Linked DNA regions of Homo sapiens: all the other regions are linked to region 1. Evidence: promoter capture Hi-C in 16 types of primary human blood cells and fetal thymus (Javierre and others, 2016). All regions are on one chromosome and are shown on one strand. Each heading gives the region's core, a stretch centred on a gene start or on the middle of the fragment in contact. The rest is flanking DNA. Distances are from core to core; before and after follow the strand shown.

Region 1 (4,171 bases), core at 1,000-3,499:
CTGAGTGTGTTTTTTAAAAATAAAGATTTCCGGGCGGGGCGCGGTGGCTCACGCCTTTAATCCCAGCACTTTGGGAGGCCGAGGCGGGAGGATCACGAGGTCAGGAGATCGAGACCATCCTTGCTAACACGGTGAAACCCCGTCTCTACTAAAAAAAAATACAATAAATAAATAAATAAAGATTTCCAGGCCCCACCTGCCCGAACATTCTTTTGTTAAGTTTGAAATGGAGCCTGGGAATTGGTATGTTTACTTAAAAAGTTCCCCGGGGACTCTGATCATCAGTCAGGTCTGTCAGAAGGGCTATACACCTTCTCAACAAGGGCTCTTTCCAACCCTTACTCACACCCTAGCTGTCCATAAAATTTTATCAAAGTTCTTGTAAATATGCCTGCCAATCAAACGCATGCGTTATCTCACCCAACCCCTTTGTGTTCTCCCCCACCCTGGGTAGCATCTCAATTTCGGCTCATTCCTCATAACAGAAGTCTTCCTTTCTCCTCTCCACCCTTGTATTAATCAAGTAATAAGTAAGCAGAAAGGTAAAACAAAGGGGAACGCTCATTTCAATGCCCGAAAATCCTGTCAGTTTTAAGAGACCAGAGAAGAAAACTCATTCTAGATCCCTCTAACACATAGTGGACTGGAAACGAAACAAAACGCTCTCGAGGGTGTTCTGTGAAGCAGGGTTGAGGGGAAGTTACAGAAGAGCTCTTGGACCGAGGGGACGGACCAAGGTTCTGAAAGAGGAAACTTGAAAGCAGGGCAGGTCGCGGGGCGAGCGGGCCCGCGCGAGCACCGCCGGCCGCTTTTGACACTCGACACCCCAGCCTTCACCCGGGTTGCTAAGAAACAAAAAGGCTCCAAGATCCCTGCAATTCCTCCCGGGCCTGGCGGAGACGACAGGGGCCTCCGGGGCCTGAAGACGCCGCAGGGAACGGCCTGGCCACTGCCCCGGGGGCGCGAAAGCCAGGGAGAGCGGGAGAGCGGGAGAGCGGGAGAGCGGGAGAGCGGGAGCTTGGGCTGAGGGGGCTGGACGCGGGGAGCGGGCCCCGAGGCTGAGGAAAAGGCCGCCCCGGGACTCTGAGGGGCGGGGAACGGGACCTCGCGGGGCAGCGACGCTCGGGCAGGCCGCGGCGGGCTCGGTTCCCGCCAGGCGGCAGCCCGGGGTCCCGGGCCGGAGGCCGGGCCTAAGCGACAACCCGGCTCCGCGAGGGGGAGGGGGCGTCTACTCACACGTGCTGACAGGCCGTGGTCCGCACGGGCGTTTTGAGCACCTCCTGACAGACGGGGCAGTAGAAATCATCTTCGGTGTAGGACGTGGCCGCAGAGAGGTCCTCGGCCATGGCGGGGGATGGGGAAACAAGGCGATGGCGACAGCGGCAGCGGCCGAGGTGACGGTGGCGGCCCGGGGCCCGACTCCCTACATGAACCCGGAGGGGGGAGGGGGATCGCATCAGGATACAGCGCGCGCCAGGAAGGGGGCGGGGCCCTGGGTAGGGCGGGGCCGAACGCAGAGACGCTACTGCCGCACGCGCCGGGCAAGAGGCGACCCCTCCCACGGCTCCTCCCACAGGGGGCTGGATGGGGGACGGTGCTTGGCGGGAGGCTGGGCTCGCAGCATGCCGTGGGCCCGCCCCGCTCGCCCCTCACCCCGCCCCAGGACGCGGCCTCACGCTCTAGGCCACGCCCTCACCGGGCTCCAGGCGCGGGCTCGCGCCCCGCCCTCAGCCCCCGTCTTCGCCCAAGGCCTCCCTTTTCACTGCTTTTCCGCCTCTACTCACCCCGACCCCGAGCCCCGAGTGCCCAGCCCGTGTCCGCGGCTTCCTCCCCGCCCCGCTTCCCGGCACCCCGGCCCCTCCACGCTTCCGCCGGGGAGACTCTCACCTAGGAGCCCCGAAGCGGCGTTGTGGACGGAGCTGCTTTTCCTTCACGTGTTCGTAGAGACCCGGCCCAGCGCTTTCCTCGAGCTTCCTGTCCGGCCGCCGCTATCTTCGCAGCCGAGGCCCCGGGGCAAATGGAGGGCGGCGTGCGCTGTGCTTATCGGCCCCTAACGGGGCCGGAGCCGAGGCTCATGGTGCAGGGAGATTCGCCCGCCGCCGCCAGCAGCTCTGTCTTGGCATTGCGCTGCCTACAGCCTACCCGGCCGTCACCGAACGCGGGAGCGCCGGGGATCTGGGCGGAGGAGCCAGGAGAGGCGGGGAGGCACGGGGTGTGAAGTGCGGCCTGTATAGCAACCGGCGCACGGCGCCTTCCGCGGGTTGTGACGTAAGCAGCTGGGCGCCCGCGGTGACACCTGCGCCTCCCCGCCCCGCCTCGCTAGGCCCGGGACCCCAGTTACCTCTCCTGTCAAATACATTGGGCCTTTCAGGAAGTTTTCGTCAATGTTCAAGATTTAGTCTTTACTATTTGCCCTACCAGAATGTTTTGATCTTGTCAAGATGTGTTATAAACAAATATTTGTTACGGGATTTTAATCCTTTGGGGGCAGGATTAAAGTTTCCTTGAGAGGATGTCCACTTTCTCCTTTAACAGCATGACCGATGCTTAAATACGGTCGCAGATGCAGTCTTCTACTACACCTTTGGGTTGATTTTTGATTTTTTCTTTTTTTTTTTAGCTTTGAAGAGAAATGCCGTAGAAGCATGGACGTGGCTTTTCACCAAGGTTATTCACTAATTTAAGTGTTTTTTTTAATTTTATTTTATTTTATTTTATTTTTTGAGACAGGTACTCACTCTGTCTCCCAGGCCGGAGTGCAATTATCTGTACAATTGATAATCTATAAGATGGTCCAACCTGCGTAACAGAGTGAGATTCCGTCTCAAAAAAAAAAAAAAAAAAGAAAGAAAAAAGGCCGGGCGCGGTGGCTCACACCTGTAATCCCAGCCCTTTGGTAAGCGAAGGCGGTTGGATCACTTGAGGTCAGGAGTTCAAGACCAGCCTGGCCAACGTGATGAAATCCCATCTCTACTAAAAATACAAAAATTAACCGGACATGGTGGTGGGAGCCTGTAATCCCAGGTACTCGGGAGGCTGAGGCACGAGAATCGCTTGTACCCGGGAGGCAGAGGTTGCAGTGAGCCGCGATCGCGCCGCTGCACTCCAGCCCTGGCGACAGAGTGAGACTCTCAAAAAAAAAGAAGAACAAAAAAAGGATAAATCGATAAGATGGGATCCACAATGACGTGAAAGAAGCTAAGGAAAATCTGGAACATTATACAGCATCTACAATTAGCTTCAGAGAAAAGAAAGGTTTTATTACCATCCTTTGTTAAAACCCTCCCCCATGGTCTAAATGAATAAACAGAAGCCATTTAAGGGACTATTTAAATCAATTCTGCCATTTATTGTCTATGTTGACATTGGCATTGTTAGGTGTTATGCAGATGTCATGAACTTTGCTCTCAACCTGTTTACATTATTACATATCTATCAGAATGAGAGAGAAAAAATGGTATTTGCCAAAGTATTAAATTTTGCATTAAACGATGGCTATAATGAGGATAGGAAATGGAATGATTAGAAATATATAGAGTTAACAGAAAACTTTATGGAGGAAATGGGTTTTAATGTACATCTCAAAAGCATTGATTCCTAGAATAATAATAATTTGTCCAATGAATAGCTAATTCCCTCTACCAAACTATATTTTGTATTTTTGTTGCTTTTCCTCCTTAGCAGCAAGCGCAGTGGAAGCAAGACAAGAAAGCTAATACTAGCTTCAGATTTCCTGGAAGGAGGAAGAGCACGTGACGAGAGGGGCAGCTAATAGCAGTAGTTCAGGTGCTTTTCACATTCACTTATAAAATGGTTCTTTGAGTTCAAATTTTTAACAGCCCAGAGAAGAAAACTCACTTTTTTTCTTTTTTCTTTTGAGACAGAATCTCACTCTGTCACCCAGGCTGGGGTGCAGTGGAATGATCTCAGCTCACTTCAACCTGCGCCTTCCAGGTTGAAGCAACTCTCCTGCCTCAGCCTCCCAAGTAGCTGAGATTACAGGCATGCACCACCATGCCAAACTAATTTTTGCATTTTTAGTAGAGACAGGGTTTTGCCATGTTGGCCAGGCTAGTCTCGAACTCCTGGCCTCCAGCGATCCGCCCACCTTGGCCTCCCAAAGTGCTGGAATTACAGGCCTGAGCCACTGTGCCTGGCCTACATTTTACTT
Region 2 (4,738 bases), core at 1,002-3,501, 280 kb after region 1:
TTTACTTAAATTCCATTTGAACTTCGTAAGTCCCTCTGTAAGTCCCTCTAATAGATGTGATTTCAAATGGCTGTATGAAACCTAAATAATTCAAACTTAATTATAATTTTTAGAAGCCTAAAAATTATGTTGAGCCTTAAAGGAAATGTGACTGTGTGGTCTGAGCACATGCATGTGGCTGCAATTTCTGCTTCTCAGGTTATAGATTCATTCTTTCTCGTTGTTCTTGTTCTGCAAATCAATTAGGAAAGACTAAATGGTGCCAGACATAAGACCTCCCCCTCCTGATGATGGCTAGCCTTTCCTCCTTTATTATCTTGCATCTAACTCAGATCAGATGGTGCGGAAGACTCCATGATTGTTATATCCTCAATGTGGAATGTTAAATATACCTTTCCCAAAAAGAACACCACCTCAATTAATCAGATTACTGTAACTGTGTGCTAGCCTTGTGTGGAAAATGTTGAAACATTGTTAAGCTTCCCAAACCTTATTTATATAAATGACCCCCAAAACTTCTCCACTTTGGAGCACTGGCTTCCATTCTTTGGAATCTGTGTTCCTGGATGCCTATCCTTAAAATTTGTGCTTGACTAAATGCTATATTTAACCATATTTCTTGAATCTCTTTAAGGTCGACACTCTATAGCAACCACCGCACTATTTTAAGTTACCAATTCTGTTCAAGATTCTAGGCTTTATTTTGATTGTAAACTTGGGGCTTGGCACATCAACTGTGAGATTTGTTTCTTTCATATCATTCCTTAATACTTAGAACAATGCAGGACACATACTAGAAATTCTTGTTGAATTGAATAGAAGAAATGAACTGATGAATGAGATATTGGGTACCATAACTCTTTTGACCAATGCCCTCTGATCACTTTAAATCTCAAGAAGAGCCTCAATTTCAATAATTAAAATTTCCAAGAACTTTAATAACCAGCATTCTGAATTTCATAAAGTTAACATTGGCTTCTCTCCTGGGAAGCTTTCAGTTTGGGAGGAAGATGGCCAACTTCTCCATTTTTCTACTGTGTGCTTCTCCTTCCTGTGTTAATATACTTGGCTGACTCTGAATCTTCCAGAATTTGGTAAAAGTACCTAAGTAGGAGTAGCAAGGGTGTAGGAACGCCTTACCTCACCGGTACTGTGATAACCTGGCATTGATGGTCTCTGGGCACCAGGGAATGTTTTGTGGGTTCTTGAGAGATCTCCCATTACTGGGAATCTTCCACAAGGTGGAAGCCATGTGTCGATGATAGAGCAACAATTTAGTAGAAGCCCATCGTCCCGATGATTGTGGAGTCTACATAGTTGCCTGGGACTGTCTATCTGGACTTTTGTGCAAAAGAAGTAAAGTTTAATTTTATTAAACCTATTGATTTTTTTTGCTGAACATACCCTAACTAATAAAACTATGTTGCCATTGCCAGTAAGGTGTGTTGTCCCCTCTGAGTGTTTAAGATCCTAGCAGGAAGCCATGTTGTTCATCATGTTATACCTATGGATTTTGTGCAGTGCCTGGGCATAGACTATATGTTCAAAAATATTTGTTTGATGAATAGATCAACCTGATATTTTTATAGGGGCAGGCTGGTTTGATGTGCCACATTTTATTATTGAAACCCAATTTTTAATACAGCAGTTAATTTGGCTGAGTTTAGTATTGTTATTGTTGACCACTTATCCCCTCAATTCTCGTCTCTCGGAGTCATTTTTTTTTTTAATACTTTAAGTTCTGGGTACATGTGCAGAACGTGCAGGTTTGTTACATAGGTATACATGTGCCATGGTGGTTTGCTGCACCCATCAACTCCTCATCTACATTAGGTATTTCTCCTAATGCTATCCCTTCCCTTGCCCCCAACCTTGCCCTGGGGGAACGCCCCAGTGTGTGACGTTCCCCTCCCTGTGTCCGTGTGTTCTCATTGTTCAACTCCCACTTATGAGTGAGAACATGCAGTGTTTGGTTTTCTGTTCCTGTGTTAGTTTGCTGAGAATGATGGTTTCCAGCTTCATCTGTATCCCTGCAAAGGACATGAACTCATTCTTTTTTATGGCTGTATAGTATTCCATGGTGTATATGTGCCACATTTTCTTTATCCAGTCTATCGTTGATGGGCATTTGTCCCAGAATCTTTTTTTTTTTTTTTTTTTGAGACAGAGTCTCACTCTGTCACCCTGGCTGGAGTGCAGTGGTGTGATCTCAGCTCACTGCAACCTCCCTTTCCTGGGTTCAAGCGATTCTCCTGCCTCAGCCTCCCGAGTAGCTGGGACTAGAGGTGTGCGTCACCACACCTGGCTAATTTTTGTATTTTTAGTAGAGTTGGGGTTTCACCATGTTGTTCAGGCTGGTCTCTAACTCCTGACCTGGTGATCTGCCCGCCTTGGCCTCCCAAAGTGCTGGGATTACAAGAGTGAGCCATCACACCCCGCCCAGATGATGTTTTAGAAGTCTAGTCTTTGGGCTGGGCGCGGTGGCTCACGCCTGTAATCCCAGCACTTTGAGAGGCCGAGGTGGGTGGATCACAAGGTCAGGAGATCGAGACCATCCTGGCTAACACAGTGAAACCCCATCTCTACTAAAAATACAAAAAATTAGCCAGGCTTGGTGGTGCATGCCTGTAGTCCTAGCTACTCAGGATGCTGAGGCAGAAGAATCGCTTGAACGCGGGAGGCAGAGATTGCAGTGAGCCGACATCGCGCCACTGCACTCCAGCCTGGGCAACAGAGTGAGACTTCATCTCAAAAAAAAAAAAAAAAAAAAAGAAGAAGTCTAGTCTTTGACCAGGTTCCCCTCATCATCCACCAGGATACTCACAGCCGTCCTGGTTGTTCTTGTCTGGGCAGCGGCTGTGCTGGCTTCCAGGGTCACCTCTGGCCACTGGCAGGTAACAGGCTTCTCTTTGGCCACAGCTTTTTTCATGCTGCTTTGTCCTGACTGTGGCCAATCTAAGCCCTTCCTTAAGGCCCCAAATCACAGCTAATACTATAAGCTGCAGCACTGAATAATAATTAAGCAAAGACTTGGGGTTAACAAGGACACCAACTACAGTCTGTTTTCTAAATGAGTGAAATTGCCCAAATAGCAAAATTTCCACATTGAAACAAAAGTTTAAATTTCAGTCTTCATTGTTCCATTTGTCTCAATGGGCTTTCACTGGCTGATTATGGGGCAACATAGATTCAAACTTTGGTTTCTAAAATATTTATAGAATATCTATTATAGAGGGCTGCAAGCAAACCTGCCTGACCTTCACTGTAGGGGGATATATTAGCTTTGTTATACTGGACAGGAAGCAACCAACTGTCAGTTTTAGAGAGAGACAGATCTCAACCTTCCAAGGCTGACACAAACATCCAGGAAAAGGTAGTCTGAAACAAAATGGAAGTTAATGCTTTGGCTCACAAGAGATGCAGAAACGCAAGAGCTTCATGAAGAATTATGTCCCAACAGAAAGCAGCCATTATATCCCTTGAAAATACCTTTGCACATCTGAGAAGCTTTTTTTTTGAGTAATGTTAAGAGTAACAAAACAATTTCAGAATGCAACCCACTTGGAAAATTATCCTTAGAGTAAAATCTTAAAGGAAAAAAAGTGTCATATCAAGAAATTGTTAAGATTGCTAGCCAAGAGCCAAGGAGTAAGGATAGCCTCAGAAACCATTTTTACATACATCCTCTAGTGTAACATCATAAACAGAAAGTCTGTGCTAGACATTTATTTCTTGGTATTACACCACAACCGTCTGATGATAAGCAGAAATTATTTGCAGATCAAGACAATTGTTCTGCAGTCTGGATGTCCTCAGATGACTGATAAAGCAATTCTAGGGTTCCCAATATTCACACAAACTTTTCTCTTTGAGGAGGCTGATACCTGGTTCACAGCTTATTTCCTTTTTATTATTCACCATTTTGGCTTTGCAGGCATTCAAGACGTTCTATATTTAGTGTAACCGTTCCCCCTTATGAGATGGTGTGATATTATAAAGGATTTTTAACTCTTTGCAGGAAAATCAGTTTTACCGTTAGTCCCTTATTTATGACAGGGATATCACAACTCTCATATTTTGTAGTATTTTTAATTATTTCTTTTATTTTTTTCTGGGATGGAATGGTATGATAGGAAACATACCATTTTAAAAAGAAAGAAAAGCTGATCTTAATTGAAAAAATTAAACTCTGATTTATATTAACTTCTAAGTGATTGTAGGGTTGGGATTTAAAATTACATGTTCTCCATTTGTGCATTAGAAAATGTCATGTGTGTGTGATACTTCCTAGTTTATAATATTAAAATACACATATGTGTATATTTAGTTAGTGATCCATAAAAAGAGCTACTTTGAAAATTAAAATTATTTGTAATGATCAAAACAATGTCCCACTAATAAAATTTTATACAAAGGAAGCTCTCAATTTGTTAATTTAAATTAAGTTCACATTTTCACCTGTTAAATTTTCTTTTTTTAATTTTAATTTTTTGTTTATTTATTTATTTTTATTATACTTTAAGTTCTAGGGCACATGTGCACAATGTGCAGATTTGCTACATATGTATATACATGTGCCATGTTGGTGTGCTGCACCCATTAACTCGTCATTTACATTAGGTATATCTCCTAATGCTATCCCTCCCCCCTCCCCGCAACCCATGACAGGCCCCGGTGTGTGACGTTCCCCTTGCTGTGTCCAAGTGTTCTCATTGTTCAGTTCCCACCTATGAGTAAG
Region 3 (4,630 bases), core at 357-2,856, 360 kb after region 1:
GGTTTGTGACTAAGTGGTAGAATTATTAGGTTACCCTATGTTCTGTTAACAAGTATCCTGGAAACTGCATTTTGGAGTCTGGAACTCTATTAACAAATGTCACTTTATAGTAAAGTGTCCTTTGGTCATTAGTATACTCCCAAAATTAGCTGAATGAAGCAATTTGAGTATACTCTAGCAGTTTGAACTTGAGGGCCAATGCTATATTTGATACGTAAGCATGGGACTGGATTTTCACTTCCTATTTTTGAAGGCATGTCTTGGCAGCACAGGCCCTATGCACTTGGCCCATCCAGTTTTGATCATATTCAGCTGTTCCCATAAACAGAGAAAGCCCCATGGCCTTTCTGGAACAGCCTGTAGTAATAAGACATGACCTTAATATGTGCTACTCTCAGATCACGTCTTTTGAAGAACCTAAGCACATTTATAATCAAAATAGAAAAGGATATCAAACAGGCTTTTCCCCATAGTTAAACTACATATTTATTTCTCTTACTTTACCACATTATCTGTTATACTCCCTGCAATGACTGTTGACCATTAGGGGTAGTAGACAGCATTCTTCTTTTTTCTATTTTAATGAAAATAATTTGTGTTTATTTGAAATGTTTATGATTGATTTGTAGGAAATAAACTTCAACATGTTTGGAAGCTTCTCTTTATCTTAAATGAGTTTTAAAGAATGCAAAAGTGTCTGGTTGAATTTGTAGCTTCAGTTATTATGATCATGTTTTTATTCTCTTTCCATTTCTTAAAATATTAAATCATGTTCTTCCAGTGCTCGAACTATTCTTGAATTCCTAAATTAAATCCTATTTTGTTAAATTGATTATTTAATATATTGTTTGATTTGATTTGCTGGTTAAAAAAATATTTCTGACCTATATTCCTAAGTAAAAGTGATATTCCGCTGGGCATGGTGGCACACACCTGTAATCTCAGCACTCTGGGAGGCCAAGGCAGGAAGATCACTTAGGCCAGGAGATTGAAACCAACCTGGGCAACACAACCAGACTCTGTCTCTACAAAATAAAAAGTGATCTTCAGTTGTCCTGTGTGTGTGTGTTTACTTTTTATTGATTTTTTCCCCAGCTTCATTAAGATATAGTTGACAAATAAAGTTATATATATTCAAGGTATACAATGTGATATTTTGATATATGTATACACTGTGACACCATTAAACCAAGCTAATTAACATATCTATCACTTCACATACTTAGTTTGTGGTGAGAACATTATAAAATCTATTCTCTTAGCAATTTTCAAGTAGACAATACATTATTATTAACTATAGTCACCATGCTGTACAAGAGATCCCCAGAACTTCATCCCTCTGTCTAACTGAAAATTCGTACTCTTTGACCAACATTTCCTCATTCCCATCCCAGCCCCACTCTGCCCCAGCATCTGGCCACCAACATTCTACTCTCCACTTCTATGATTTCAACTTTCTTATATTCTACATATAAGTTAAATTATGCAGTATTTGTCTTTCTGTGCCTGGCCTATTTGACTCAGCATAATGTCCTCCAGGTTCATCCGTGTTGCTGCAAATAACAGGAATTCCTTCTTTTTGCCTTTTTTTTTTTTTTTTTTTTTTTTTTGAGACGGAGTCTCGCTCTGTCGCCCCGGCTGGAGTGCAGTGGCATGATCTCCGCTGACTGCAAGCTCTGCCTCCTGGGTTCATGCCATTCTCCTGCCTCAGCCTCCTAAGTAGCTGGGACTACAGGCGCCTGCCACCACGCCCAGCTAATTTTTGGTATTTTTAGTAGAGATAGGGTTTCACCCGGTGGTCTCTGTCTCCTGACCTCATGATCCGCCCACCTCGGCCTCCCAAAGTGCTGGGATTACAGACGTGAGCCACCGCACCCAGCCAGGAATTCCTTCTTTTTTAAGGCTGAATGGTATTCCATTGCATAGATATATCCCGTTTTCTTTATCCATTTATCTCTTGACAGACACTTAGGTTGATTCCATATCTTGGCTATCATGAATAATGCTCCAATGAACATGGGAATGAAGATATCTCTTTGACATAATGATTTCATTTACTTTGAATATATACCCAGAAATGGAATTGCTGGATCATATGGTAGTTCTATTTTTACTTTTTTGAGGAAGCTCCATACTGTCTTCCATAATGGCTGTGCCAAGTTACAGTCCCACCAACAGTGTGCATGGGTCCTGTCTTCTGCACACCCTTACCCACACTTACTATTTTTTGTCTTTTTGATGATAGCTATACTAACCAGTGTGAGGTGATATCTCTTTGTGGTTTTAATTTACATTTCTGTGATCATTAGTGATGTTGAACATTTTTTCATATACCTGTTGGCCACTTGTAAATGTCTTCTTTTGAGAAATATCTATTCAGGTATTTTGCCTGTTTTAAAATTGAATTATTTATCTTTTTAATATTGAGTTGTTTCAGTTCCTTATATATTTTGGATATTAACCTCTTGTCAGGTATGCAGTTTGTAAATATTTCCTCCCCTTTGGTAGGTTGCCTTTTCACTCTGTTGATTGTTTCCTATTCTGTACAGAAGCTTTTAATTTTGATGCAATCCCATTTCTCTCTTTTCACTATGTTGCCTGTGTATCAAGGGTCATATATGACCAAAATATCATCTCCCAGACCAATGTCTTGGAGCTTTTCCCTTATGTTTTCTTTGAGTAGTTTTATAATTTCAGGACTTACATTTAAGTCTTTATTTCATTTTGAGTTGATTTTTCTTTATGGGTGAGACAAGGGTCTAAGTTCCTTCTTTTGCATGTGGACATCCAGTTTTCCCAGTACCAATTATTGAAGAGACTGTGCTTTCTTGAACGTTGTATGTTCTTGGTACCTTTGTTGAAGATCAACTGAACATAAATGCATAAACTTATTTCTGGGGTCTCTATTATATTCCTTTAGTCTATGCATTTGTTTTTATGCCAGTACTACGCTGTTTTGATTACTATAGCTTTGTAGTATAATTTGAAATCAGGTAGTATGAGACCTCCAGCTTTCTTCCTTTTGCTCAACATTTCTTTGACTATTTGGAGTCTTTTGTGGTTTCATAGGATTCTCTTTCTATTTCTGGGAAAAATGTCATGGAATTTTGATAGGCATTGCATTGAATCTGTAGATTGTTTTGGTGCCAATGATCATTTTAGCAATATTAATTCTTCCAATTCATGTACATGGGGATATCTTTCCATTTATTTGTGTCTTCTTCATCCTTTCATCAGTGTTTTATAGTTTTCAGTGTACAGGTCTTTCATCTCCTTGGTTAAATTTACTCCCAAGTATTTTTTTTTTTTGGATATACTGTAAATGGGATTGTTTTCTTGATCTCTTTTTTGGATAGTCTGTTGTTAGTATATAGGAATACTGCTGATTTTTCTATGTTGATTTTGTATCCTTTAACTATACTAAATTTGTCTATTTTAACAGGTTTTTTTGGTGGAGTCTTTAGGATTTTCTGTATATGTGATCGTATCATCTATAAATAGAGATAATTTTACTTCTTTTTTTTCCAACTTGGATTCCTTTTATTTCTTTTTCTTGCCTAATTGTTCTTGCCGGGACTCCCAGTACTATATTAAACAGAAGTGGTAACAGTGGACATTCTTGCCGGGTTCCTAATCTTAGAAGAAAAGCTTTCAGGTTTTCACCATTAAGGAGGATATTAGCTGTGGGCTTGTCATATATGGCCTTGATTATGTTGAGGTATATTCCTTTATACTTGATCTGTTGAGAGTTTTTATTATGAAAGGATATTAAACTTTGTCAAATGCTTTTTATATATCTTTGAAATGGTCGTATAATTTTTTTCTTTATTCTGTTCATGTGATCTTACATATTTGCATATGTTGAACCACCCTTTCTCTGGGATAAATCTCACTTGATTATGGCATATGATTCTTTTAATATGCTGTTGAATTTGGTTAGTATTTTGTTGAGGATTTTTATATCTATGTTTATCAGGGATATTGGTCTGTAATTTTTTTTGCAGTGTCTTTATTGGCTTTGGCATCAGAGTAATAATGGCCTCCTAAAGTGAGTTTGGAAGTTTTCTCTTTCCTTCAATTTTCTGGAAGAGTTGGAGAAGGATTAGCATTAATTCTTCCTTAAATATTTGGTAGAATTCACCAGTGAAGCTGTTGGGTCCTGGGCTTGTCTTTGTTGAGAAGTTTTTGATTACTGATTCAATTTCTTAGCTCATTATAGATCTGTTCAGATTTTCTGTTTCTTCATGATTCAGACTTGCTAGGTTTTATGTTTCTAGGAATCTATCCATTTCTTCTAGGTTATCCAACTTGTTGGCATATAATTGTTGACAATCGTCACTTATGATCCTTTTTTTTTCTTTTTTTTTCTTTTTGGCACAGGGGCTAGAGTGCAGTGGTGTGATCTCAGCTCACTGCAACCTCCACCTCCTGGGCTCAAGTGATCCTCCCACTTCAGCCTCCCGAGTAGCTGGGACCACAGGGGAGCACCACCATGCCCGACTAATTTTTTTATAGTTTTTGTAGAGATGAGGTTTTGCCATGTTGCCCAGGCTGGTCTCGAACTCCTGAGTTCAAGCGATCTGCCCACCTTGGCCTCCCAAAGTGCTGAGATTACCAAAGTGAGCCACTG
Region 4 (4,273 bases), core at 437-2,936, 260 kb after region 1:
TGATTTCTCAGCCCTGTTTGTGGTTCATTAGATTAGCATTTTAGAAAAACTAATGTGTAAAGCAGTTTTCAAAATGTGGTCCCAAGACTGGACCTGGTGGCACACACCTGTAATCCCAGCACTTTGGGAGGCCAAGGCGGGCGGATCTCCTGAGGTCAGGAGTTCAAGACCAGCCTAGTCAACATGGTGAAACCCCATCTCTACTAAAAAATAAAAAAAAATTAGCCGGGTGTGGTGGCGAGCGCTTGTAATCCCAGCTACTGGGGAGGCTGAGGCAGAATAGCTTGAACCTGGGAAGCTGAGGGTGCAGTGAGCCAAGATCGTGCCACTGCACTCCAGCCTGGGCAAAAAGAGCAAAACTCCATCTCAAAGAATAAAAAACAACAACAACAACAACAACAACAACCAAAATGTGATCCCAGACCAGGAGCATTAGTATTAGTATCATCTGGGAACTTAGAAATGTAATTTCTGTTTTTTGTTTTTTTTTTTTGAGACGGAGTCTTGCTCTGTCACCCAGGCTCGAGTGCAGTGGTGTGATCTCGGCTCACTGCAAGCTCCACCTCCTGGGTTCATGCCATTCTTCTGCCTCAGCCTCCCGAGTAACTGGGACTATAGGCACCTGCCACCACGCCCGGCTACTTTTTGTATTTTTAGTAAAGACGGGGTTTCACCATGTTAGCCAGGATGATCTTGATCTCCTGACCTTGTGATCCGCCCGCCTCGGTCTCCCAAAATGCTGGGATTACAAGCGCAAGCCACCGTGCCCAGCCTAGGAATGCAATGTTTGGGCCACACTCCAGACCTATGGAATCAGAATCTCTGAGAGTAGGCCCAGCAGGTTTTTTAAAACAAGCTTGCCAGGTATTTCTGGTGCATACTCAAGTGTGAGAAACATGGTTAAAGAATAGATTGCATTGTGGTGCTAATTAAGAGGCTCTTGCAGTAAAATGAGACATGAGACTTGAACTTGTAAGGAAAATGAGATACAGTGAAGTAACCAGGTTCCAGAGATGTGTGGGTGAGAGAATTGGCAGGAATTTGTGAAGAACATTGGGAGTGGAGGTTAGTGACTGTTAGGAGGAATCAGTATGATACTTACAGTTTGCTGGGGTAGATGGGGGTGCTCTTCACTGGAATGAAGATGATGAGTTTCACTTTGGACCAGGAGATATCCACATGTTCACATTTCTTCTTCTACTAGAAGCATTTGTATAAGGTACAAAGAATTTGACATTTGAGGATCAAATGGGAACAGAATAGCATAAGTTCCTGAATTTTTACTTTGGGCTACAAATTATGCAATTGGAACTTAATTTAATGAGATGCTTCAGACTGACTGGACACCTACCCAGTAGTCTTTGTTGCCCTTCTTGCCACATGAGAAGTTTGTGGGGGAAGTTAGGGCATAGCACCAGTACAACCTGGTATGTATTTTAAATCATCTTAGTTTTTGTTTAGGGAAACCTGTGACGTTTGCGGTATTGTTTAAAAAGTATTTCTCAGTAAGAAGATATAAAGTTTCTGAAAGTATAAAATATATTATCTGAGCAGAATTTAAAAGTTAATGTGTATGAACTTATACGGTTACTATTTTTTCTTCTTTACTATCTTTGTGTTTATAGAGTAAAAGGTAGATAATAGTATATAACCCTGCTTCATTTGTACATGTTATATTCATTTCTTGCATTCTTGATTTGAAATCTGTACCACTCTATTCGCATGTCCTCTTCTATCACTGCCTTTTTTCCTATGCTTTAGTAATTTATTAATTATGGTATCAGAAACTAGGCTACCTGAGCAAAATGTATCCACTCGAAAGAGATTTCCTCATAACTATATAGAAATCATTCTTATATTCTTCAAAACATGATGTTGTGCAAATTTGATAGAAAAACAAATGTCAGTCTAGGCCAAGTTCTCAAAATTAAGTAATTTTTAATAAGCACAAAGACAACAGTATTAGTTGTTGGCATTTTCATGGTTTACTTTTTCTTCATTGATCTAAGTTGAGATTTTGTTTTTCATTTTGTGAAATATCTAGAAACATTTTAGTTGTTTTTAGAAGATTAATAAATGAAAATAAAATAGTTCTGTGAATGTATATATTCTGATATTTAATATTGTCATTGTATTAATATATTTTTTATTTACAATATAATTTGTCTTGAGTGATTTTGGAACTTGAGCTTTTTCCTTCTTGAATCTGATTGTTTTTAAGGAGCTTATGCTCTGTTACATAGTCTTAAGTGTTATTTTCAGGAAAATTGCTTTTAAGAAGAAAAAAATATATAACTTTTTTGTTTATTTTTCTTCCATAGCCTTTGTTTAGTACCAGTCACTCTTTTACTTTCCAATTGTTCTAAGGCTGATGTAGATGTCATAGTTGATCTTCGGCATAAAACAACAAGGTAAAGATTTGTTTAGTGCAAGGTTATTTGATTTGGGAGCAATTTAATATTTTGAAATTATGCAAATAATTACCTAACATGGATAAGAAAGTTACTCAAGCTTGTCCTGGTTTTTTGTTTGGTAATATAGAAGGCTTACAGATGTGTTACAGAGGCTTTAAATATTAAAGATTTTTTTTTCTTGATTATAAAATAGTACTTAACAACAAAAAAAAATCCAGATCCACAGTCCCACATCAGATACTCCTAGAGCCAAATGCTTTTGGGAATTCAGAAATTTTTGAATTTTTGGAAAAATACTATAAAGCGTATACTTAATATTTTTGTATAACACCCCAAACAGGATCTGGGACAGTTCTCTGAAATCCAAACACACACCTATATATGTGATTTTGTGTATCATAAATTTATTAATACTTTATTGGGTACTGGGTTTTCCATTTTTCAATATTATAAACAGTTTCAATATTAAAAGCATTCATGTACAGACACTTATATATGGCTAACTAAGGAGTTAAAAGTTTAGGTTTGAAATCAAGTTCCAACATATACTAACTCTTAGGGCATTAAATGAAATAATCCACTTTTAGCATTGTGCCTAGAGAATAGAAACTATTAAATAATAAATGTTAGCTGTTATAGTAATGATGTTGCTATTATTAATAAACAGTTGGCTTCATAAAATAATTTTTAGAAATAGAATTGTTAGATGAAAGGGATGTTTGTTTTCTTCTTGAGATGGAGTCTTGCTCTCTCATGGGCTGGAGTGCAGTGGTGCAATCTCAGCTCACTGCAACCTCCGCCTCCCAGGTTCAAGTGACTCTCCTGCCTCAGCCTCCTGAGTAGCTGGGATTACAGGCGTGCACCACCATACCTGGCTAATTTTGTATTTTTAGTAGAGACGGGGCTTCATTATGTTGGTAGGCTGGTCTTGAACTCCTGATCTCAGGTGATCCACCTGCCTCAGCCTCCCAAAGTGCTGGGATTACAGGCGTGAGCCACCGCGCCCAGCTGAAAGGGATATGTTAATGTGACTTTGGGAAAAAAATTAAAAAGAAAAAAATCCTGCAACTTACATTTTCCTCCTCCCTTAGTCCAGAAGCACTGGAAATCCATGGATCATTCACATGGCTTGGACAAACACAGTATAAACTTCAACTTAAAAGCCAGGAGATTCACAGTCTGCAGCTGAAAGCATGCTTTGTTCATACAGGTGTTTATAACCTTGGAACTCCTAGGGTATTTGCCAAGTTATCGGACCAAGTTACAGTGTTTGAAACAAGTCAGCAGAATTCCATGCCTGCCCTGATCATCATCAGTAATGTGTGACAACTTGGAAATTTGTACTGAAATCCACAATAATCAGTTTTTGCTGGATGGGTTTTACAGCAGTATTTGATATACCTAACTTGTTATGGAGGTTGATTGATATCTGATCCCTGCAAAATACTTTGACTTGTCATTTTGTTGATGATGCAAAGCACGTTGGACTGAGAATACTTAACATTCTTTTTCTGTATTTCTTTAAACCCTGAGAATAATTTACATGCTCATAATACAGGATATCAGCATATTTGTGCACCTTATTAAGCCCCATCTTAAGAAAACACAAAGTCTAAGTCTGCTGTTACAACTTGTCAATGGTATACGAATATTAGGAGATGATTCTGAGAAAGGAAAGGCCTTGTTGGCAGTACTCCTGTTAAGCCATTAGTCTCTAAATTCCAGCTTTACTGTGAAGTTCTATAGAGTGTTAAATACAAATTTTCCTGTCTTGCTTCACACAGTTCCTTAAAATCAGTTTTGAACTTTGGTCATAGAGTCTTCATATTTCAGTATTTGGTGGTCCCTATGACTTATAC
Region 5 (4,803 bases), core at 917-3,416, 330 kb after region 1:
GCCTCAAACCTGTAATCCCAGCACTTTGGGAGGCTGAGGCTGGGGGATTACCTGAGGCCAGGTCAGTGTGGCCAGCATGGTGAAACCCCATCTCTACTAAAAACACAGAAATTAGCCAAGTGTCTTGGCATGTGCCTGTAGTCCCAGCTACTTGGGAGGCTGAGGCAGGAGAATCGCTTGAACCTGGGAGGTGGAGGTTGCAGTGAGCCAAGATGGTGCCACTGCATTCTAGCCTGAGCAACAGAATGAAACTCTGTCTCAAAAAAATTAAATAAATAAAATAATAGAAAGTTAGATTAGACGTCTCTGAGCTTCGCTGAATTGAAAAGTGGGGTTCTCTGTCATCAACTAATATTACTTCTCACAAAGCCTAGGGTGTGGAAAACATATCAGAAGATAAGATAGGAGTCAGAGAGAAGCTTCATTCCTGTTCTTTTAGGCTTCTCCCAAACATCTTGCAGACATTTAGCAGCCTGAGAAGGGTGACAATGGTCTCCATTGTAAAGAGTCACCCATCAGACATAACCAAGGGGCAAGGGCCAAGTTATCTGTGCTTTGAGGGTGCTGGTTCTGCCCTGGGGCAGCCAGCATGGACAACACTAGGTTGAGGACTAGGTGGGATAGCAGAGCATTAGGGCCTGTGCTGAGACAAAAATCCCGCAATAAAGGGTCTGGAATCTAGGACTGTGACCAAACATATTTGACTTGGGCCATCGGTCAGTAGAGTTGCCTAATTTTTTTTTTTTCTCTTTTTTGAGATGGAGTTTCGCTCTTGTTGCCCAGGCTGGAGTGCAATGGTGTGATCTCAGCTCACTGCAACGTCCGCCTCCTGGGTTCAAGTGAATCTCTTGCTTCAGCCTCCCAAGTTGCTGGGATTACAGGTGTGCACCACCATACCCGTCTAATTTTGTATTTTCAGTAGAGACAGGGTTTCACCATGTTGGCCAGGCTGGTCTTGAACTCCTGACCTCAGGTGATCCCCCACCCCAGCCACCTAAAGTGCTGGGATTACAGGTGTGAGCCACCGCGCCTGCCTGAGTTGCCTGATTTCAAACTGTATAGTTACATTGCCCAAGAAACTGCAAGCTTGGACCAAAAAAAGGTGGCAATGGCTCAACTTCCAAAGCAATTTTCCAGCTCCTCTCATCTGCACCAATGGCAGTGGGCTGTGTGGCTTCAGAGGGGAACACCTCCTAATACCTTTCTAGGTCCCAGTGGTTTGGGTGGTGGGCGGGATGGGAGGTTTACCTCCTTCTGCCCCATTTACCTGACAAGTGCAGGATGAGGCAAGTGACTCAGGTTTGATTAGTATCATTTTCCATCCCCCTGATCCCAGTGATTGGTTCAGACCAACTAACTGCAATGAGACTCAATCCTAGGGTTGTTTTGCAGGAACTGTTGGGAAAGTGAAGCACTTCATCCTTCAGTTGCTAAATTAGCAGAATAAGCTTCAGGTAGGATGTTACTCTGTAGAAAGAGCTGACTGAAAATGAAGTTAAAACTGAGGAATGTATAGCTGGGCAATATATACGTGGAGAGGGATGTTAAGTACTTGTGATGGTGGTTGAACCTCTAGGATCCAGCAATGCCTAAAGTGATTGCTACTTCTGGATTTCTCAACTTTTTCATTACACGAACTAATACATTTCTCCCCCCACTTCACTTTTTATTGTTATTTTCTCACTGAAACTGCCTTTCTTTCCTCTCTTGCAAAGGAATTCACTTGCCTCATCTGGCACTTGGGTGCTGAGGACAGAAGGAGGTAAGTACCCCCCAAAATCAGCAGGATCCAGAAGGGTATTCGGAAATGTTCTCCTCTGTGGCCACATGGCCCACTCCTACTGGTGCAAATGAGAGAAGCTGGAAAATTGCCTTAAATGTTGCCCAGATGCCACCTTTTTAAATCCTTTCCTGATTTCTTACCTCCTTCTCATCTTCCTTCTTCCTTCTCCTTTCCTTACCCCCTAGATTTGCTTGCTTCAGTTGGAATGGTATTTTTGGCTCTTATAACCAAGACCCATGAGTAATACAGAACTCATCAACACTCTTTACACTCTTAAGCAGTTGGAGACCTAACCAGATGCCTGGACACTGGGGACACAAACTGGAATAAAGTTCAATGAGAAGTGGACTGTGTCTTCAAGAAGCCCTCAGCATTGTGAATCGTGGACATTGTACAGTGTGACACGTGCCACACTCACAGTGTGTATAGGGTGTGTTGTGGAGAAGGGGTCCTCATTTGGACTAAGGAGTTAGCGAAGGCTTCCAGAAGCTGAGTAGGAACTAGAAGTAAGGACATTTCAGGCAGAGGCAATAACCGAATAAAGACAAAGGAGTGTCAGATGGCACATTATTCTTCATTCTGGAGACCCCGAGTAGTTTGATATGGCGGGGACGGAAGGTGCCTTTAGAAATGTGAAGGCAGATGGCGCCAAGGGTAGGAAAACGTCAGACCATGGGGGACCTTTGTCCTTCAGGTGTAAAATCATTTAAAGATTTAAGTGAGGGAAAACGTGCTCACGTTTGTTACTAAGATGACTGCTTTGGCTGCAGTGTGGAGGATGGATTGAAAAAAAGCAATTGTTATCTTACCATAGGATCATGAGAATCTCTCTTCAATAAATGCGAGAAAGGGCAGTCTGTTTTTCATGATATACTGATTGCCAGCATCTTGACAGAAGGGCTATGGCAAAACCGAGAAAACACTATCAATATTAGGCAAAAAAGCAAAACAAAACAAAAGAAAGGAAAACAAAGATCTCTCTAGCCCCAACAGTGCTAATTTTTGCATACCCAGCAATTACATTTCTAATGAAAGTCATTGCTGCCAAAATCAATCAGTATAAATGTTGGAGACTCCCTTCTCTTTCCGTGAAAAGCTTTTACTATTTCGTTTCACTAAAGCTTAAAGAGAACTTCGGGTTTATGGTTCATTCTAGAGCGATCCACCATAGGCGTGCTTTAAGATGATGGTCAGGGAAACTGTCATTTAATCTCAAGGAAGCTGTCATTTGATTCTATTCAAAAACTAGGCAGTACACATCAGCAGGCAATGTAGTCTGATGCTGTGACCTACTTTGTTGGCTGAAGCCTTCCACTGTTCCTGGAAGGGAAGTTATTTTTGTTTCCTTTCATCTCTCATTCACATACATGGAATATACACATTGGTTACTCTAGAAAACACATGGGTAGTCCTAGAGCAAAATGGGTTTCAAGGTTATTTAATTTATGCCTCTTAAAACCTCAGACACTTTCCTCCCAGTAAAATTTCATGTGGTATACAGAACTTTTTTTAAAAAAAAAATTCATCTTCTCCTTACTTCTCCTTACCACCTACTTTTTTCTTTCTTTTCTTTTTTCTTTTTTTGGGTAGAGACAGGGGTCTTGCTATGTTGCCCAGGCTGGTCTCAAATTCCTAGCCTCAAGCGATCCTCCCGTTTTGGCCTCCCAAGGTGCTGGGATTACAGGTGTGAACCACTGCACCTGGCCTACTTTTTTCCCTTTCAAGAAAATACAGTACTCCAAGGCCTGAGTGACTATGAAATTTCAACTTTTGTGCCTTTGTACTCTTAGATACCATGTTTGTTTTGTTCTTCTGCAAGATTACACTAAAATCCACTTTTCTTGTATGTATACACTATTTAAAAAGTTTCACAGTCTCTTAGGGAAGCCACTGGCAACACATCTTCACAGTGTCCGTGGAGAAGGTTATGTGATTTAAGAAACACTTGTGTCTATACCATTTAATATTTAGGAATTTGTTGATTTTTTAGGATCTTTGGATGAATGAGTTTTTAATTTTATCCAGCTTATTTAGAAGAAATTGCCATGCTTGCTTTAAAAGGGTTTCTTCTCGGATCCCAGCGGCGCCCAGAGCGTCACGCTGCGCCCCCGCCCCGGGGTCGGTCATGGTCTGCGCCTGCGCAGGTCCCGGCTTGCTCGCAGTCCTGCGGGGCGCCGGCGGCGATGGGTTGGGGAAATGGACGCCTGGAGAACGGAAATCCAGTTATCAAAATGGACTCGGGAAGAGAGAACCTAACAGAACAATAACAATGGAAGAAATTGGGAACATTATCACAAAGCTATCATCCTGCCAAACTCCAGGCTCAGATGATGTCACAGGTTAAAAAATGCCCTTCATGAGAAAGATCTTAAGCAACATGATAGATTCAGAAGCTCATGAAAAGAGGCCACCAATACTTACATCTTCAAAACAAGATATATCACCTCATATTACAAATGTTGGTGAAATGAAGCATTACTTGTGTGGCTGCTGTGCAGCCTTCAACAACGTCGCAATCACATATCCCATTCAGAAGGTCCTCTTTCGGCAACAGCTGTATGGCATCAAAACCCGGGATGCAGTACTTCAGTTGAGAAGGGATGGATTTCGAAATTTGTATCGTGGAATCCTTCCCCCATTGATGCAGAAGACAACTACGCTTGCACTTATGTTTGGTCTGTATGAGGATTTATCCTGCCTTCTCCGGAAGCATGTCCGTGCTCCAGAGTTTGCAACCCATGGCGTGGCGGCAGTGCTTGCAGGGACAGCAGAAGCAATTTTCACTCCACTGGAAAGAGTTCAGACATTGCTTCAAAACCACAAGCATCATGACAAATTTACCAACACTTATCAGGCTTTCAAGGCACTGAAATGTCATGGAATTGGAGAGTATTATCGAGGCTTGGTGCCCATTCTTTTCCGGAATGGACTCAGCAATGTCTTGTTTTTCGGCCTTCGAGGTCCCATTAAGGAGCATCTGCCTACCGCAACGACTCACAGTGCTCATTTGGTCAATGATT
Region 6 (4,389 bases), core at 463-2,962, 300 kb after region 1:
AAACTAGCCTTTTTGGTTTTTAATTTTTAAAAAATGTTTAAATTTTTATGTATTTATTTAAAGTTTTTAAAAAATACAAGACAGGGTCTTGCCATGTTGCCCAGGCTAGTCTCAAACTCCTAGGCCCGAGCCATCCTTCTTGCTCAGCCTCTCCAAGTGCTCAAATTACAGGTGTGAGCCACCTTGACTGGCCAGAAACCAGCCTTTCTGAAAGACACCACTGCAGATATCAGCCAACAGCCAGATGCTGCCCTTCCCTTTTGCAGTGTTGACACCACAACCAATCAGGCTTCCTTCCTAATGATAGACCACCTACCACAGATTGGTTCTGGCCAGTCCACAGAGGATGCATAGTGAGGGTTTTTGTGTCCTCTACTTTACTTTTTGATGTTAGAGGGCCAAGATCGGATCGTGCCAATGCCGACATTTTTTGGGACCCATGAAGGGGCATGAAGCTCAGCTGCACATGCACGTTTCTCCTCTCATAAATATTCATGACTCCTCCTACAGCTTTTTAAATGTGGGGGGTATTCATATCAGAATTACCTGAAGAACTAAGATATATTTATCTATGGCTAATTGTCCACCCTGCTTGCATAAATTCCTGTTCCCCTTCCCCCTCCCTCAAAGTGTCTGTTTCTGGCTTCTGACTGAAGGCTGTGCTTCCCAGCCTGTCAGAATTGCCACCATACAGGCTGCAAGTCTTGCTGAGAAATTAAGCTCTCCTTTCCAAATTTATGAACCTCCTTATTCTTCAGTTACAGGTTACACAGAGGAGTTTGAGAACTGCCTGACTCATAGAATCACAGATTCTATCCACAGGAAGATTCCTCTAGCTCAATGGGAAGGAACAAAGCTTTGTTCAAAGCTCATCCCTGTGACATAAGAGGACATAGAAATCAGGATTTTTTTTTTATGACTTTGTGTTCTCTCTGGGCATTACCTTCTTTCTGATAGCACATCACATATATCTCACCAGGTGAATCATATGAATTCTGGTTCATACAACCTCATGTTCCAAAAATTTTAAGTGGCTTGGGACTTGGCCGGTAGTGAGGATTTTGAATGGATTAGAAAGTAGTAAAACCTAACAGATGGACGAGGCGTGGTGGCTCACGCCTGTAATCCCAGCATTTTGGGAGGCTGAGGTGGGTGGATCACAAGGACAGGAGATGGAGACCATCCTGGCCAACATGGTGAAATCCCATCTCTACTAAAATACAAAAAATTAGCCAGGCGTGGTGGCACGCACCTGTACTCCTGGCTACTTGGGAGACCGAGGCAGGAGAAATGCTTGAATCCGGGAGCTGGAGGTTGCAGTGAGCCAAGATCATGCCACTGCACTCTAGCCTGGGCAACAGAGTGAGACTCCATCTCAAAAACAAACAAACAAAAAAAACCCCCAAAAATAAAAAATAAAAATTAGCTGGATGTGGTGGTGGGCACCTGTAGTCCCAGCTACCCGGGAGGCTGAGGCAGGAGAATCTCTTGAACCCAGGAGGCGGAGGCTGCAGTGAGCCGAGATCACGCCATTGCACTCCAGCCTGGGAAACAAGTGAAAAGCTGGTCTCAAACAACAAAAACAAAAACAAAAAAACCCCAGATGTAGCAGAAGTGTTCTAAAGCAATTAGCTGAGATATCACAAGCTACAGAAGGAAGGTCATTATGCAAATGCAGGGCCATTAAATGCCAGTCTTTTTAGCCTAATGTCAGAACCTGCCTTATACCCAAAGGATAGGGGGATAGTTGCATGTTTTCTTTCAGCACAATCCACCTCATGCTGTCTGATCTGTCCCCATTAAACCAGGCTAACGGGTTTTTCTTAACAACAAAGACCAGCAGATGGTTTCTGATGTCAATGATGTTCATCTCGTATTCTGGTTTGGTTTGCTTTCACTACCTCCCTTCTCTGCTTTGAAGGTTATTTTTTCCTCAGTTTCAGGGTCAAGGAGACTCATAAAAATATGCAAGGCAAATAATGTTTTTAAAATGTAGCCCATTTTCACCTTTTTTATGTCTCATTGGCTGTAATGTGTGTTTGTAGAGACAAAGTGTATCCATTTTGCTTCACCAGCTAACAATACAAAGAATGATAAATGGCTGTTATTCCTCCTCCTCCTCCTCCTCTTCCTCCTCTTCCTCCTCCTCCTCTTCCTCCTCCTCCACTTCCTCCTCCTCTCTTCCTCCTCTTCCTCCTCCTCTCTTCCTCCTCCTCCTCTTCCTCCTCCTCCTTCTCACAGTCTTCTCTTCTGAGAACCTGGCCCCAGTAGTGTTACCTTGCCTGAGGACTCCTTGCTGAAGGAGGAAAGGAGTAGGTACTGTAATTCTTTGTCTAGTTATTACCCAAATGAAAAATTCCAAGATAAATAGTGCTTGCATCTCAAAGGGTGAAAGGATAGAACAATGGCCTTGTGCTGTTTCTATATACTCTCTGTAACAACCCAGGCATAGGATGGCACCAAATCAGGAGGAATATAAAGGGAAGGTGTTCAAGGCAAGTAGGAAAGTGCAATGGCATGAGGAGGCTTGACAAGAAAGGGCAGACAAAGCTGCGGAGACAAGCTTCTGGTTTGGATCAGCAATCCTAGAGGGGAAATGTCTTTGAATTGGAAGCTGAAGATCTGGGTGCTAGATCAGTTCTATAGTTCTACTAGTACTAAAATCTTGCCTCAGTTTCCCTCAGCAATATAACACCACTATCTTTCCTCAGCATATAAGAGACATATGAAGCCCTTTGTAAACTGTAAAGCAGAATCTAAATAAATATGAAGTCTCAAGAGCCATACACTAGAGATAGCCCAGGTGGGAGCTACCTGTGGAATTAGGAAGCAGCTGTCCTCTGCTCTCTTTTTGCTTTTCCAACCTGCATTCCTTCTTTTCCATAAACCACAGCTTCCCAGAAAAGTACTCTCTGGTGACTGAGTTTCTCAGATTCAGTGTTTCTTCTTCCCAGGCTCTGGGTTTCTTCTTCCTGGGCTCTGATGAATGGCTTCTCATTATCCAATACCCATCTATTACCGTCACATAGACAACATCCTCTGCTCACCTATTCTGTCTCCGATGTGTCCATAGCAGTGATAAAGCTAGTCTCCTTTTGTGTCCAATCAAGCATCAGTTGCCCTTATGTGTTATTCCTGTTTATGGCCTGGGAGAAAGTATAACCTCTAAAGTAACCTTTGAACAGGGTGAATCACATCTGTTATGTTGTAATTTATTGGTTTAACACTCAGGAGTCAATATTGTATCTCCTTAAAATTTATCTGGGCACATTTCACAGTCACATCCATATACTTGGCATCTTTAGAAGGTGGAAGTGTCAAGAAAAGGGAGGTTTTAAGACTGAGGGTAGTGTTGGCTTTTGCTATTGCAGTGTCTGAGCCGTGAAGCCACATCACATGGTGAGTGTGAGGGTTCCTCCCCTGCGGGGAATACCTGTTTCTACTGCCAGTCATCCTGAGGTAGGACGGAGTGGGAGAGGACATCCCCTCGGGTGCAATTGGGTCTGAACTTAATTTGTGGGGATGCCTAGAGGTGCCTGGGGAGTCAGGCCTACTCTTATTATGAGGAGGTCTATTGCAAGCTCTCCAGGAACTCTTGAGGTTATGGTCAGTAGCAGTTATAAGATAGTTTCCACATCATTTTCTGTCTTCCTACTTTACTAAAAATTAATAAAAGCCACTGTCTGGTCTGAACTGTCCTCCGGGGAATTAGTGGCAACAGGGTCCCCACACTGAGGGCAGAGTGGAAGCATTAGAGTGGGCATCATGAGGGACAGCTGTCCCCACCAGGTGGCTATTTTACAAAGATGGTCAGTGTTGAGGGTTAAGAAGCAACAGGGATCTGTGGCATAGTTCCCTTGAGGCAAGACCTAGAGAAACTCCCACAAATAACTGGCAAGGCGCTTTGAAGGAAGTGGACCAGTGGGTGTTAGAGTCATAATAAGTTGAATAAGCAAAGAGGATGTAAACCTATTTTGTGGTCACAGGCCCATGTCACTGGCAGCATTGAGTTACAGCAATGTCTTTCAATACTCTCCACTTCTCTTTCTTTTAAAACCATGCTCACCAAGTGACCTTCAGATAATAATTTAGCTTCCCAAATATTTGCCAACAGGGAGAGAATGCACTGGCATCGACGGAGTGCGCTCCAGTTCTCCTGGAGGCTTTATTTTGCTATGTTAATCAAATTATTCTTCTGGTCTACACAGCAAATTTTTATGAGTTTGGTAAATATGAGTCAGTTCTGGAATGATTATCTATCATGTAAACAAACAAAATTAGATTTTAGTCCTGCAAAGACGAAGGTGAGATCCTGGGCCATGCCCTCTGTGTTAGTCTCCTAGGGCTGCCATTACAAAATACTGCAGACTGGATGGCTTCAAAGAAGCT

The links. Contacts are between HindIII fragments. The CHiCAGO score rates a contact against its expected background, and 5 or more counts as called.
Region 2: a fragment that was not itself captured here is called in contact with the fragment with the promoter of RNF138 in region 1 in 2 of 17 cell types (non-activated CD4 T cells and total CD4 T cells); the score reaches 5.6 in non-activated CD4 T cells.
Region 3: a fragment that was not itself captured here is called in contact with the fragment with the promoter of RNF138 in region 1 in 8 of 17 cell types (naive CD8 T cells, total CD4 T cells, monocytes and 5 more); the score reaches 7.8 in naive CD8 T cells.
Region 4: a contact is called between a fragment that was not itself captured here and the fragment with the promoter of RNF138 in region 1, in 4 of 17 cell types (total CD4 T cells, naive CD8 T cells, total B cells and 1 more). The highest score is 7.9, in total CD4 T cells.
Region 5: a fragment that was not itself captured here is called in contact with the fragment with the promoter of RNF138 in region 1 in 1 of 17 cell types (total CD4 T cells); the score reaches 5.1 in total CD4 T cells.
Region 6: a fragment that was not itself captured here is called in contact with the fragment with the promoter of RNF138 in region 1 in 1 of 17 cell types (M0 macrophages); the score reaches 5.2 in M0 macrophages.

What each region holds. Positions count from the first base shown.
Region 1 is chr18:32,089,952-32,094,122 of GRCh38, reverse strand. RNF138 (ring finger protein 138) reads right to left here and starts at 2,249. Exons shown (of 8, transcript NM_016271.5): 1 at 1,888-2,249; 2 at 1,237-1,423. The coding sequence starts at 1,346. It overlaps LOC124904278 (a long non-coding RNA gene), which reads left to right and starts at 2,178. Exons shown (of 2, transcript XR_007066327.1): 1 at 2,178-2,268; 2 at 2,621-2,848. It also overlaps a transcript of RNF125 not described here. RefSeq lists a silencer at 1,411-1,830 and an enhancer at 2,501-2,550. The HindIII fragment of the contact is 10,157 bases long and covers 1-4,171 here.
Region 2 is chr18:31,813,378-31,818,115 of GRCh38, reverse strand. No RefSeq gene overlaps it. Among named protein-coding and RNA genes, the nearest start is that of SLC25A52, 55 kb to the right of the region's middle. The HindIII fragment of the contact is 2,516 bases long and covers 994-3,509 here.
Region 3 is chr18:31,732,464-31,737,093 of GRCh38, reverse strand. No RefSeq gene overlaps it. Among named protein-coding and RNA genes, the nearest start is that of SLC25A52, 26 kb to the left of the region's middle. The HindIII fragment of the contact is 1,897 bases long and covers 658-2,554 here.
Region 4 is chr18:31,830,222-31,834,494 of GRCh38, reverse strand. TRAPPC8 (trafficking protein particle complex subunit 8) reads left to right here. Exons shown (of 29, transcript NM_014939.5): 28 at 2,322-2,411; 29 at 3,506-4,273. The coding sequence ends at 3,740. Among named protein-coding and RNA genes, the nearest start is that of SLC25A52, 71 kb to the right of the region's middle. The HindIII fragment of the contact is 1,655 bases long and covers 859-2,513 here.
Region 5 is chr18:31,760,019-31,764,821 of GRCh38, reverse strand. SLC25A52 (solute carrier family 25 member 52) reads left to right here and starts at 3,942. Exons shown (of 1, transcript NM_001034172.4): 1 at 3,942-4,803. The coding sequence starts at 4,161. The HindIII fragment of the contact is 1,431 bases long and covers 1,451-2,881 here.
Region 6 is chr18:31,791,506-31,795,894 of GRCh38, reverse strand. No RefSeq gene overlaps it. Among named protein-coding and RNA genes, the nearest start is that of SLC25A52, 33 kb to the right of the region's middle. RefSeq lists an enhancer at 3,265-3,324. The HindIII fragment of the contact is 1,707 bases long and covers 859-2,565 here.